Linked DNA regions of Homo sapiens: region 2 is linked to region 1. Evidence: promoter capture Hi-C in human tissues and cell types (Jung and others, 2019). All regions are on one chromosome and are shown on one strand. The core of a region is centred on a gene start or on the middle of the fragment in contact, and the rest is flanking DNA. Distances in the headings are between cores, read along the strand shown.

Region 1 (5,998 bases), core at 848-3,347:
ACTAGAGTTGTGGGTTTTTGAAAAGAGACCACAGGCTGGGCATGGTGGCTCACGCCTGTAATCGCAGCACTTTGGGAGGCAGAGGCAGGCGGATCACCTGAGGTCAGGAGTTCGAGACCAGCCGCCAACATGGTAAAACCCCGTCTCTACTAAAAATACAAAAATTAGCCAGGCGTGGTGGCAGGCGCCTGTAATCCCAGCTACTCGGAAGGCTGAGACAGGAGAATTGCTTGACCCCGGGAGGCAGAGGTTGCAGTGAGCCGAGATCGTGCCACTGCACTCCAGCCTGACTGACAGAGTGAGACTCTGTCTCAAAAAATAAATAAATAAATAAAATAAAATAAAATAAAAAAGTAGAAAAGAGATCAGAGTTGAAGTGTCATTATCAACATGGCTCTTAGCTGGATATCACATTTAAAAATTAGATAATTTGGGTTTTCATTTGAGATCTGATTTCTTGAGAGTGTGAATCTGACAATCTGAAGTAGAGCTTCATCCTGATATAGTAACAGCTAACCGGATGGAGTGGTCCCCTTTAGATGGGCTGTGCATTGACCACGGTTCTGGGGTAGGATGCAGTGCCCTGGGGGAGTCAACAGGAAGGGGAATGGGTGGATTATATACTTCCAGGTTTACGGGGTAAAGGGGTTACTGGGAATGATTCATTTCCCACCCACGGTGAAGTTCTCTCTGGAGCAGAGTGATTAAGATCATAGATTGTGGGGAAGAACAAAACAAAAACCCCAAACCCATAGATTTGCAACCAAACTACCTGATTTGCCTCTCTGTGCCTCAGTTCTCTCAATTTTAACTTGGGGATAAGCACCTACCGATAAGGACTACGTGAGATAACCCTCATGTAGTAAGAACTATTAACAATGACTGGCACATAATAAGAACTTAATAGATGTTTGCTATCTATTAGGAAACTTAAAAGTTTGCCTGGAAGAGCAGAGGAGGTCAAGTCTAACAATTGCCGCTTTCTTTCCCCAGGTAGGAGGCTAGTAGGAGGGGTGGGGGGGCTGGGGGTGAGGGGGATGGTTAAGTTCCCACGGTGACGGGGCAGATATGGGAACTCAGTCTCCTATTCCCTTCTTCAGTTCTCAGCTCCACCAAAGTACCCTTTTCCTGGATGACAGCTGTCATTTATATGGCGTTGAACTGTGTGCCTAGCGCTGCACAAGTGTTTGCACTTTCTCCTTGAATCCCCACAGCTACCATATAGAATAGGAGCCATTGATATACCCAGGTGAGGAAACAGATGCAGAGATGTGGCTTGGTCAAAACACAGCTGAATTGGCAGAGTCTAGTTTCTTTTTCTTTTTCTTTTCTTTTTTTTTTGACGGAGTCTCGCCCTGTCACCCAGGCTGGAGTGCAGTGGTGCGATCTCGACTCACTGCAAGCTCCGCCTCCTGGGTTCACACCATGCTCCTGCCTCAGCCTCCCGAGTAGCTGGGACTAACAGGCGCCCGCCACCACGCCCGGCTAATTTTTTGTATTTTTAGTAGAGACGGGGTTTCACCGTGTTAGCCAGGATGGTCTCGCTCTCCTGACCTCGTGATCCGCCCGCCTCGGCCTCCCAAAGTGCTGGGATTACAGGCGTGAGCCACCGCGCCCGGCAAGCAGAGTCGGGTTTCAAATTCAGTCAACTTGTCTTCAGGGCTCGGCTCCTAACGCCTGCGCGGGCTGTCAGCTGAACTCAGCGCCGAGCCGTGAGCTTGGCTTTGCCCCTCCAAGCTTGCGCGGAGAACGCGCCGCCTGGGCCGAGACGGGGACCCCGGGACGCTCCCGCCTCCCCTCGGAAAGAGGACGGAGATGCAGATTCTCCCCGAGCGTTGGTTTGGGAGTCTGGACTCTTAGGTCCAGTCCCAGCCCAGTGATTTGTTGGGAGGCCCTGGGCCTCTGGGCTTCAGTTTCTCGGGCTTCCAGGCGGGTCCCGGGGCGGCTAGGAAGGAGCCGCCCAGAGAGGGAGGCGCGCCCGCGCTGCTCGCAAGCAGAACCTTGGAGGCGGCGGCTCCGGGAGCTGGCGGCGCGGCCGGAGCGGCGGACCCGGCGGACCGGGGGGCGGGGCGGACAGGCCTGGGCGGAGCGGGAGGCGGAGGCGCCGCGTAGGCCCGGGAGGCCGGGCCGGCCGGGCTGCGAGCGCCTGCCCCATGCGCCGCCGCCTCTCCGCACGATGTTCCCCTCGCGGAGGAAAGCGGCGCAGCTGCCCTGGGAGGACGGCAGGTGAGCGGCGGCGGTGGGCCCGGGCCCCGTCCTCCCGGGCGCCGCTCCCTTCTCGGCCGCCGGCGGAATCTGGGAACCCGAGGCCATCACGTCTCCATGTCTGCGGGTTTCTGTGAGGGCGTGTGGTTCTCCCTGTGGGTCCCTGGCGCTCTGTTCCGGTTTCTGTCTGTCCCTGTGGGTCTCTGCCTCCCCCGCCCCCTCTCCCTTTCCGCGGCACTCGTCCTTCCCCCAGCACCTTCCCCCCGGCCCGTGGGTCCGTATTTCTCCATTGACTTCCCTTTGTGAGTTTCTGATCCCCTCTTTGCTAGTCTCTCTCGTTATGTGTTTCGTTGTGTCTGTGTTTCTCCACCAGCCTCCCTCTATCTGCATGCGGGTCTCTGACTCCGCTGACCTCTCACCATGGATTTGTGTTTCTCAATTTGTCTCTGATCCCTGAGGACGTGTATTCCGTTTCTCTGGTCTCTGCCTTCCTCATCACATCCATATAGCCTCAGACCCTACCCTTCCTCCTTAACACTTCCCCCCATCCTTCGCAGGCCACCAGCAGAACCCACCAGACAGAAGCTCCGTGCTCTGCCTGGCTGGTCACTGCCTGGCACGTACTAGACACTCCTTATACACGCATTAGTCCATTTCCTGTGCAGCTGTATTGGCCCTACGTGAAAGATGCGAGCTTGGCCCACACCTTAGCTAATTTTGTTTCTCACTAAAGCAGAATGGGGAAAGCGATTTGACTGCCTCCATTCGTGGGGCACTTGAGATGTGTCCCTGTAAGTCTTCTCACAGAACACATGACTGGATCTCCTCCTCGTGAATGACACCTCATTTCCTTCATGTTTCTTAAGTCCGTCAGGTGCCATAAGATTCTGGAATTTAGTGGCCACAACTTGTACTTTTGGGGATTTTTCAGACTTGGTGTTGAAAGGGGAAAACAGGAATATAATAGAAAGCGTGGACTAGCGTTCGACCTGGGCAGGAGTCCTCCGTAATTATGTGAGCAGAGACCCCTGCATCTGTCCGACCGCAGCCTTTCCGTCACTGAGCCAGTTATGACAGTATTGGCTCTGCAGGGCTGTGTGAGGATTAAAGGACCGCACACATGTAAAGAGCATGGCACTGCCTAGCACAACAGGAGGTGCCAGTTGTCTTCCCGTTACCTTTGCAGTTTTGAGGTCCTGTAACCAGAGCAGCTGAGGATTCAAACCTCGTAGTACGAAGGTCTGTATGAGACAAGAAAGGAAAGGTAACAGAGGAGCATTTCTATTTCCTGATCCTTTTCCATAGCTGTTTCCAGAGAAATTTACTGATGTCAATTCTGTGCTTTTGACACAGGGTTGGTGCAAAGATCCACGCAACTGATGCAGGCTAGTGTAGCTATCTAGTGTAGGCTCTGGAGCCAGCCTGCCTGGGTTTGAATCCGCCTTTTACTAGTCTTGGGCAGTGATTGATGAGGGAGACAAAGCCTCTTCTGGACTGCCCCTCAGAGCCAGGGTGGCCTGGGCCTGGGAGCCACTGGGACTGCAAATCTGGTTTGCCACCTGGTGGCACCAGGAACAATTGTTCTCGGTGTCCACTGTCCTGAGGAATTGGGACTCTGGGTTCAATCCAGTTGCTCTGCGGTTTGTGCTCTTAGAGCACAGGATGATGCCCATGGGGATGTGGTCCTCATAGGAGAGGGGAGCAGGGCCGAGGGAATTAGCGTGTGGACGTGCTCGGAGTACCCAGTCCACGCCGTTCCCCTGGATAATAGTCACTGCTTCTTTTCATGAAGGTGGGATATCACCCCATATCCATCTCTCCAGTCTCTACCCTGTCCCCAGAAAAAGCCCAGAGGGCAAGGGAGAATCTGTAGAGGTTCCAGCCTTCCCAGACCACTCTCAGGACTGGGCTGTGCTCCTCCCCAGCTGAATCCACCACCACAGGATAATGGGGGGTAAGTCAGAAGCCCTGGGGGGTTTCCTACCAGGCCACCTCTCAGCTGCGTGTGGAACCTGGGCCTGGCTGCAAGGCTACTGGCTTCCAGGTTGGCGGTCTCTCTAGAAAAAGGGAGGAGTTGGTCTGGCTTTAGCATGTGACTTAAGGCATGCCCTGACTGCCTTACCCCTTTCTGTAACTCACTTGGCAAGCTCTCTGCTGTCTGGCCTGTGCTTGCTGTGCTGGGGCCACAGATAAGAATCTGACACGGCCTGAGAAGCAAGGACACAAGGCATTACAAAAAAGTGGGAAGATGCCGTGGGAATACAAAAGTGGGAGCATTATGGGGGCAGGGGGCAGTGCTGGCCATGACATTGGAGTTCGGCTCTGAAGGATCAACAGGGGTCCTCAGGCAGATAAAGAAGGACATTTCAGGCAGAAGGAGCAGGCTGTGTGAGGGCTGGAGCAGGAAGGAATATAGCAAGTGGAGAAGCTCCGAGGTGCCCAACATGAGAACATGGGGCGAAGGCTTGGGAGCACCTGGAGTTGGGGCCAGGTCATGGAGGGCTTTGACTGTCAGGCCAAAGGGCTTGGCCTTTGTCTGGCAAACAGAGGAGGGTCATTCAGAAGACTGAAGGGGTCTGAGCAGGGCAAGGAACAGATGAGTGAGGAAGGATCAGAGGGGGACTTAGGAGATAGAATTTATTTATTTATTTATTTATTTATGAGATGGAGTCTCGCTCTGTTGCCCAGGCTGGAGTGCAGTGGCGTGATCTCAGCTCACTGCAACCTCCGCCTCCCAGATTCAAGCTATGCTTCTGCCTCAGCCTCCCAAGTAGCTGGGACTATAGGCGCGTACCACCACACCCAGCTAATTTTTGTATTTTTAGTAGAGATGGGGTGTTACCATATTTGCCAGGCTGGTCTTGAGCTCCTGACCTCGTGATGCACCTGCCTCGGCCTCCCAAAGTGCTGGGATTACAGGCGTGAGCCACCACGCCTGGCCAGGAGATAGAATTTATAAGACCTGATAGCTAATCGCTGACTCTTAAGATTGTGAAGTGGATTCCTTTGCAGATTACTTTGGGGAGAAGGTAGGGGGAGTACAGAGGAAGCTTCTCCCTTCATGGATTCCTCAGCTCCTGTCTCAGCATACTCAGGAACTTCCAGAGGAGCGGCAAAGGAATCTGGTGAATTCTGTTTCTTTGTATTTGCTAACCAAAAGGCTGTCTCCTGGCATCACCCCAGTGTCTGTGATGTTCAGCTGTTTTTCCAGTTTCTGAAATCAGTGCCTGTGCTGTACCCAGCCCTCATCTTTCTTTCCCTCTCCATCTCCCATCTTTTATCATGAGCTGCCTCTTGGACTAAAGGTTTGAGGCTCGTTCAGTGAACCGCCACTGACAGTTTGGGCCTTGCATTGCTTCGGGGGGCACGTCTGATCTTCCCAGAGTAAACATTGGTCATTTTACCTGGACTAATGCCAGCACACACCCGTGTCTGGGTGGCCTTTCTGGTCATTCTTGGAAGCAGGATGGAGCCACGGTTTCTGCTGGGGTGGATCTGTAGGGGAGCGGGTTTGGAAAGCAGTGGGTTGCATCTCTAAGGTGGGGACTCCTGTCATTGGCTCAGGACATTGAGCCACTATCGTGGGGAGGAGCACCTGCAAGTGACAGGAGCCTCCTCATCCTTGCCCTGAGCAGCTCTGACCAGGACTCAGTCACAGAAAGTAAGAGAGCATTGAGGAGCCGGGGCAGCTCTGTGAACTGGGAGTGGTTCAGAGGGCTTCCCGAGAGCGGGTGGCATGGGTTGGGTCTAGAGAGGCAAGCAGGATTCGGATGCATGGTAGTGGCATGAGCAG
Region 2 (5,483 bases), core at 2,849-5,348, 56 kb after region 1:
TAGTTTCATAGGTTTTTGGGTAACAGGTGGTATTTGGTCACACAAGTAAGTTCTTTAGTGGTGATTTGTGAGGTTTTGGTGTACCTACCACCCAAGCAGTATACACTGAACCTAATTTGTAGTCTTTCATCCCTCGCCCCCTTCTCACCCCTTCCCTGAGTCGCCAAAGTCATTCTTATGCCTTTGCATCCTCATAGTTTAGCTCCCACTTATGAGGGAGAACATACGATGTTTGGTTTTCCATTCCTGAGTAATTATGTTTTTTTAACATTAGAATAACATGCAGCTGATAAAACGATTATTGAATGAATACTTACAATGTACCAGGCACCATGTTGTGCACTGGGAATACCATTGCAAGCAAAATGAATAATGGTCTGAATGAGGTATGAATTTTTTAAATGTCTATTACATATTTTTTAATTTTAAAATATATATACTAATTATATATAAATATATATAAATTTTAGTTTTTATTTTAATGCCTATAATATATTAAGTAATTTTAAAAAGTTAGCATGACCCCATTGGGAAAGAATTATACATTTAAATATGTTTGTGCACACACAAGGAAAATTTCTGGAGCAATACACAAAAACTGTAGTTATCTAGAGTAGAAATAGATAGGGGCAGGTTCTTACATAAGAATTTCTTACCTGTATTTACAGTTTATGATTATTATTATTTTTGAGATAGAGTCTTGCTCTGTTGCCCAGGCTGGAGTGCAGTGGCACGATTTCGGCTCACTGCAACCTCCACCTCCCAGATTCAAGTAATTGTCATGCCTCAGCCTCCAGAGTAGGTGGGACTACAGGCGCGTGCCACCACTCCCAGCTAACTTTTGTATTTTTAGTAGGGACAGGGTTTTGCCATGTTGGCCAGGCTGGTCTTGAACTCCTGACCTCAGGTGATCCGCCTGCCTCAGCCTCCCAAAGTGTTGGGATTATAGGCGTGAGCCACCACGCCTGGCCTATTTACAATTTAAAAATAATGTTTATAATTTTTTTTTCCAGATGGAGTCTCGCTCTGTCACCCAGGCTGGAGTGCAGTGGAGCCATCTTGGCTCACTGCAACCTCTGCCTCCCAGGTTCAAGTGATTCTCAGTCCTCAGCCTCCCAAGTAGCTGGACTACCATGCCTGGCTGATTTTTTGTATTAGTGGAGATGGGGTTTCACCATATTGTCGAGGCTGGTCTCGAACTCCCAACTCAAGTGATCTGTCCACCTCAGCCTCCCAAAGTGCTGGGATTACTGGCGTGAGCCACCATACCCAGCCTAATGTTTATAATTTAAAATGGGAAAAAATTATTTTTCGAATGATATGATTATGTACCTTTAAAACATAAGCAAATCAGAGAACCCACTGGAGGGTACAGGGTTTCCTTCTGGAGTGAAGTAAATGTTCTAAAATTAGATAGTGGTGATGGCTGCACAACTCAGAGAATTTTATGGTATGGTATGGAATTATACTTTAATAAAGCTGTTATTAAAAGACCCACTGGAATAAGGTAACACTTTACAAATTAGCTAATACAAAAATACAAAACTAAATCCCTACCAGACAGGAAGGAACACTTTGTCTTCATGGGTAGCCAGACCCACCAACCTCCCAAAGACAGCTCAGGATAAATGAGGGATGTTGGAAGTGATCTGCAGGCTTTCAAGGAAGCTGAACTTGATTTAAGACCCAAGTTAATTTCACATCTGATGTATTAAATTCAAAATGTAGATGAATTTTCCTTTCTATTCTATGGCAGCTCCATACAGCTGTAGTGAATATTATATTAATAAGTTCACTAACTTATGCGATTGTGCCACTGCACTCCAGCCTGGGTGAGAGAGCAAGACTCTATCTCAAAAAAAAAAGGAGTTTTAAAAAACAATTTTTGTATTAAAAAACTCTCGTGAGTCTATTTTTCCAAAACCATCCGTTTAAAAAATAGAATTATATTTTGTGACTTGCTTTTTTCCACTTAACTGTTTACTACTACCATCCCCACCTGATGTTCCCTTGGAAACCTGGTATGAGGTTTGAAAAAGTTTGCCCCAGGATCTTAAAGATGGAGACAAGCAGTGGTAAACCTGCTCTACTAGTTAGCATCTGGTTGAAGCTACCTTAGTTTCCTCATTTACCAAACAGGGATAATAATACTACCTACCTCATGGGGTTGCAGTGAAGATTATGAGTTAATCCAAGTAAAGCACTTGACATGGTACCTGGCATAAATGCCAGCTATTCTTATTATGTGATGCTTACCATGATTGATATGTTTAACCCTACATAGCACATAGTCATTCAGAATCAAAACACTAGCTCCATAAAAAGGCACCAAACCCAAGGAAGTCTTATAGTTTTACTGATCACCAAGAAGCAAATCTCATAAAATGAAAGTTATACTATACTTCTGCTTAGAAAGACAATATTGTAAAGACATTAACTCTCCTTTAATTAACTTATAAAACTAATGTAGTGGTTCTGAACTGGTGCAATTTTACCCCCTACCCAGGGGCTATTTGGCAATGTCTGGAGACATTTTTGATTGTCACAAGTTGAGGGGTTACTACTGGCAGGCATCTAGCGGGTAGAGGTCAGAGATGCTATTAAATATCCTACAGTGCATAGGACAACCCCATGCAACAAATAATTATACGGCCCAAAGAAACAATCTAATGCAGTCTTTGACAAAATTATTCTAAAATTCATTTGGGGGAACAAATGGGTACAAATAGCCAGGACATTTTTTTGGGGGGAAAAATAGTAAGGAGACACATACGTACATATGTATGTATTCCCCATATGTTGAATTGTAATCCCCAAGGTTAGAGGTGGGGCCTGGTGGGAGGTGTTTGGGTCATGGGGGCAGATCCCTCATGGCTTGGTGCTGTCTTCACAATAATGAGCTATTGCGAGATCTGGTTGTTTGCATCTGTGGCACCTTCGCACCCCCACTCTCACTCTCTTGCTCTCTCCATGTGACGTGCCAGCTCCCACTGTGCCTTCCACCATGATTGTAAGCTTCCTGAAGTCTCATCAGAAGGTGAACAGATGCCGGCACCATGCTTCCTGTACAGTCTTTGGAACTGTGAGCTCTTTTCTTGATCAATTACCCAGTCTTAGGCATTTCTTTTGTTTTTTAATTTTAAAAAATTTTTATATAAAAGTCTTTGATCCATCTTGAATTGATTTTTTGCATAAGGTGAGAGATGAGTATTCTCAGGGATTTCTTTACAGTAATGCAAGAACAGCCTAACACATATACTGCTTTATGAAATCCCGAAAGATATATCAAACTATAAAAATAAAACAGGAAAGTTATGGTATTGAATAAAGAAATCAATGAAACATAATGGAAAACCCAGAAACACAAGTAAATAAAATAATTTGGTATAAAAATATGTTACGGGCCAGGTGTAGTGGCTCACACATGTTGTAATCCCAGTGCTTTGGGAGGCCAATGTGGTAGGACCACTTGAGGCAAGGAGTTCAAGACCAGTGTGGGCAACATAGTGAGACCCTGTCTCTACCAAAAAATAAATTAATTAATTTAAAAAATTAGCCAGGCATGGTGGTGTCTGCCTATAGTCCTGCCTACTCAGGAGACTTGAGGCAGGAGATTACTTGAGCCCAGGAGTTCAAGGCTGCAATGAGCTATGATTCTGCCACTGCACTCCAGGTTGGGTAACAGTGAGATTCTAAAACAAAAAATGTTACAAATAATTGGAGAAAAGATAATTGTTTTAAAATGACTGACACAATTGATAACACCATATTTTATAATCTAATATGTGGAATGTTTCCATAATACATATATAACCAGGATGTATACTATAATTAATGTGTGCATTTCATGTGGTAGTGTTTCTTTTTAGAAAAGGTGTTTTTAAAATGACAGCAAGTCTTAGATTTGTTGTTGTCTTAGAAATAAGGCAAGAAATTAAATTTTATCCTTAAGTAAAATGACTAACTATTTAAGAAAGAAGGACAAAACTGAAGGTCTAAACATGCCATAGAAGGTCTAAACATATCATGGAAAGTTTGCGAAGGATGAATTTACAAAAGAAATTTGTGGTGACCAAGTTGGCTATAATTAGAAGAAACTTACTTATAAGTATTTCTAAAGACTGCTTCAATTAAAAAATACATGTGTGTATATATATTTATATACACATTGATATGAAAACTAAAATTTTGGTCTCCTATATTAGAACAATGTTTTCTTGAAGTATTGATCTGCTTTTAATAACATTTGCAAGAGATTTTGACCTAATTCTGAAATTTGTTTCTTAAATTTTCAACTATCTTCTGAAGTGCAGCTTTTTTGTTTGTTTGTTTTTTAGTCTTCCTTTCTCTAATATCAGTTTTAAAATGAATCTTCTTCATTTAGAATGGTAATTTCATATTTTGAGGTAGAGTTTTCCTGTGGAAGCTTCTCAGATTCACATCTCAGTAGTTAAACTTTTGCTGTATCTTGTTTCATGTGATTTGCAGGTCAGACATTTCTGCCTTTTGGTCTTCCACTTTCTCTCCTTGAGACAGTATATCTTTTTGTTTGGTGAGGTGATAATTCTCTTTTAACTTTTTCATCTTCTGTAACTTTTTTTCTCCAGCTCTAACTCTGCTTTAACGGCCTGACACTGAAATGTTCTATCTTGAAGGCCTAGAAAAGTTGTTTTCCTCCAGTATATCCTGATTCTGTGCTCTTGGCTTTCTTACTTTCTTTCTTTCTTTTCTTTTCTTTTTTTTTTTTTAGGAGTACTCATTTTTTAATTTGTTTATTTTAGTCAGGATATTTTCTGAAGTAAAATTTCACAGAAAACAAAATTTTATTTTACATGTACATTTCATCTCTTTAAAGTCAAGTTAGCTCTTTTTCTTTAAAAAAAAAAAAAAAAAAAAAAAAGACAGTCTCACTCTGTCACCCAGGCTGGAGTGCAGTGGCACGATCTTGGCTCACTACAACTTCTGCCTCCAGGTTCAAGCGATTCTCCTTTCTCAGCCTCCAGAGTAGCTGGGGTTACGAATGTGCGCCACTACACCCAGCTCATTTTTTGTATTTTTAGTAGAGACAGGGTTTCACCATGTTGGCCAGGCTGGTCTCAAATTCCTGTCCTCAAGTGATCAGCTCGCCTCAGCCTCCCAAAGTGCTGGGATTACAGGCATGAGCCACAGCACCCGGTCCTGAAGATAACGTTTTTATGACTTTTATTTGAAACATTATTGGTTCTTTTTTTTTTTGAGGTGGAGTCTTGCTCTGTTGCTCAGGCTGGAGTGCAGTGGCACGATCTCAGCTCACTGCAACCTCAGCCTCTGGAGTAGCAGGGATTACAGATGCCCACCACCATGCTGGCTAATTTTTGTAGTTTTAGTAAAGACAGTGTTTCACCATGTTGGCCAGGCTGGTCTCGAACCCCTGACCTCAGGTGATCTGCTCACCTCGGCCTCCCAAAGTGCTGGGATTACAGGCATGAGCCACCATGCCTAGC

The links. Contacts are between HindIII fragments. The study calls those that stand out against the background at their distance.
Region 2: a fragment that was not itself captured here is called in contact with the fragment with the promoter of B4GALT7 in region 1 in 3 of the 25 tissues and cell types used here (bladder, lymphoblastoid cells and thymus).

What each region holds. Positions count from the first base shown.
Region 1 is chr5:177,598,035-177,604,032 of GRCh38, forward strand. B4GALT7 (beta-1,4-galactosyltransferase 7) reads left to right here and starts at 2,098. Exons shown (of 6, transcript NM_007255.3): 1 at 2,098-2,226. The coding sequence starts at 2,177. RefSeq lists enhancers at 1,251-1,350, 1,551-1,730 and a silencer at 1,911-2,450. The HindIII fragment of the contact is 7,199 bases long and covers 1-5,998 here.
Region 2 is chr5:177,651,815-177,657,297 of GRCh38, forward strand. It overlaps the pseudogene SIMC1P1. Among named protein-coding and RNA genes, the nearest start is that of B4GALT7, 54 kb to the left of the region's middle. The HindIII fragment of the contact is 6,089 bases long and covers 1,055-5,483 here.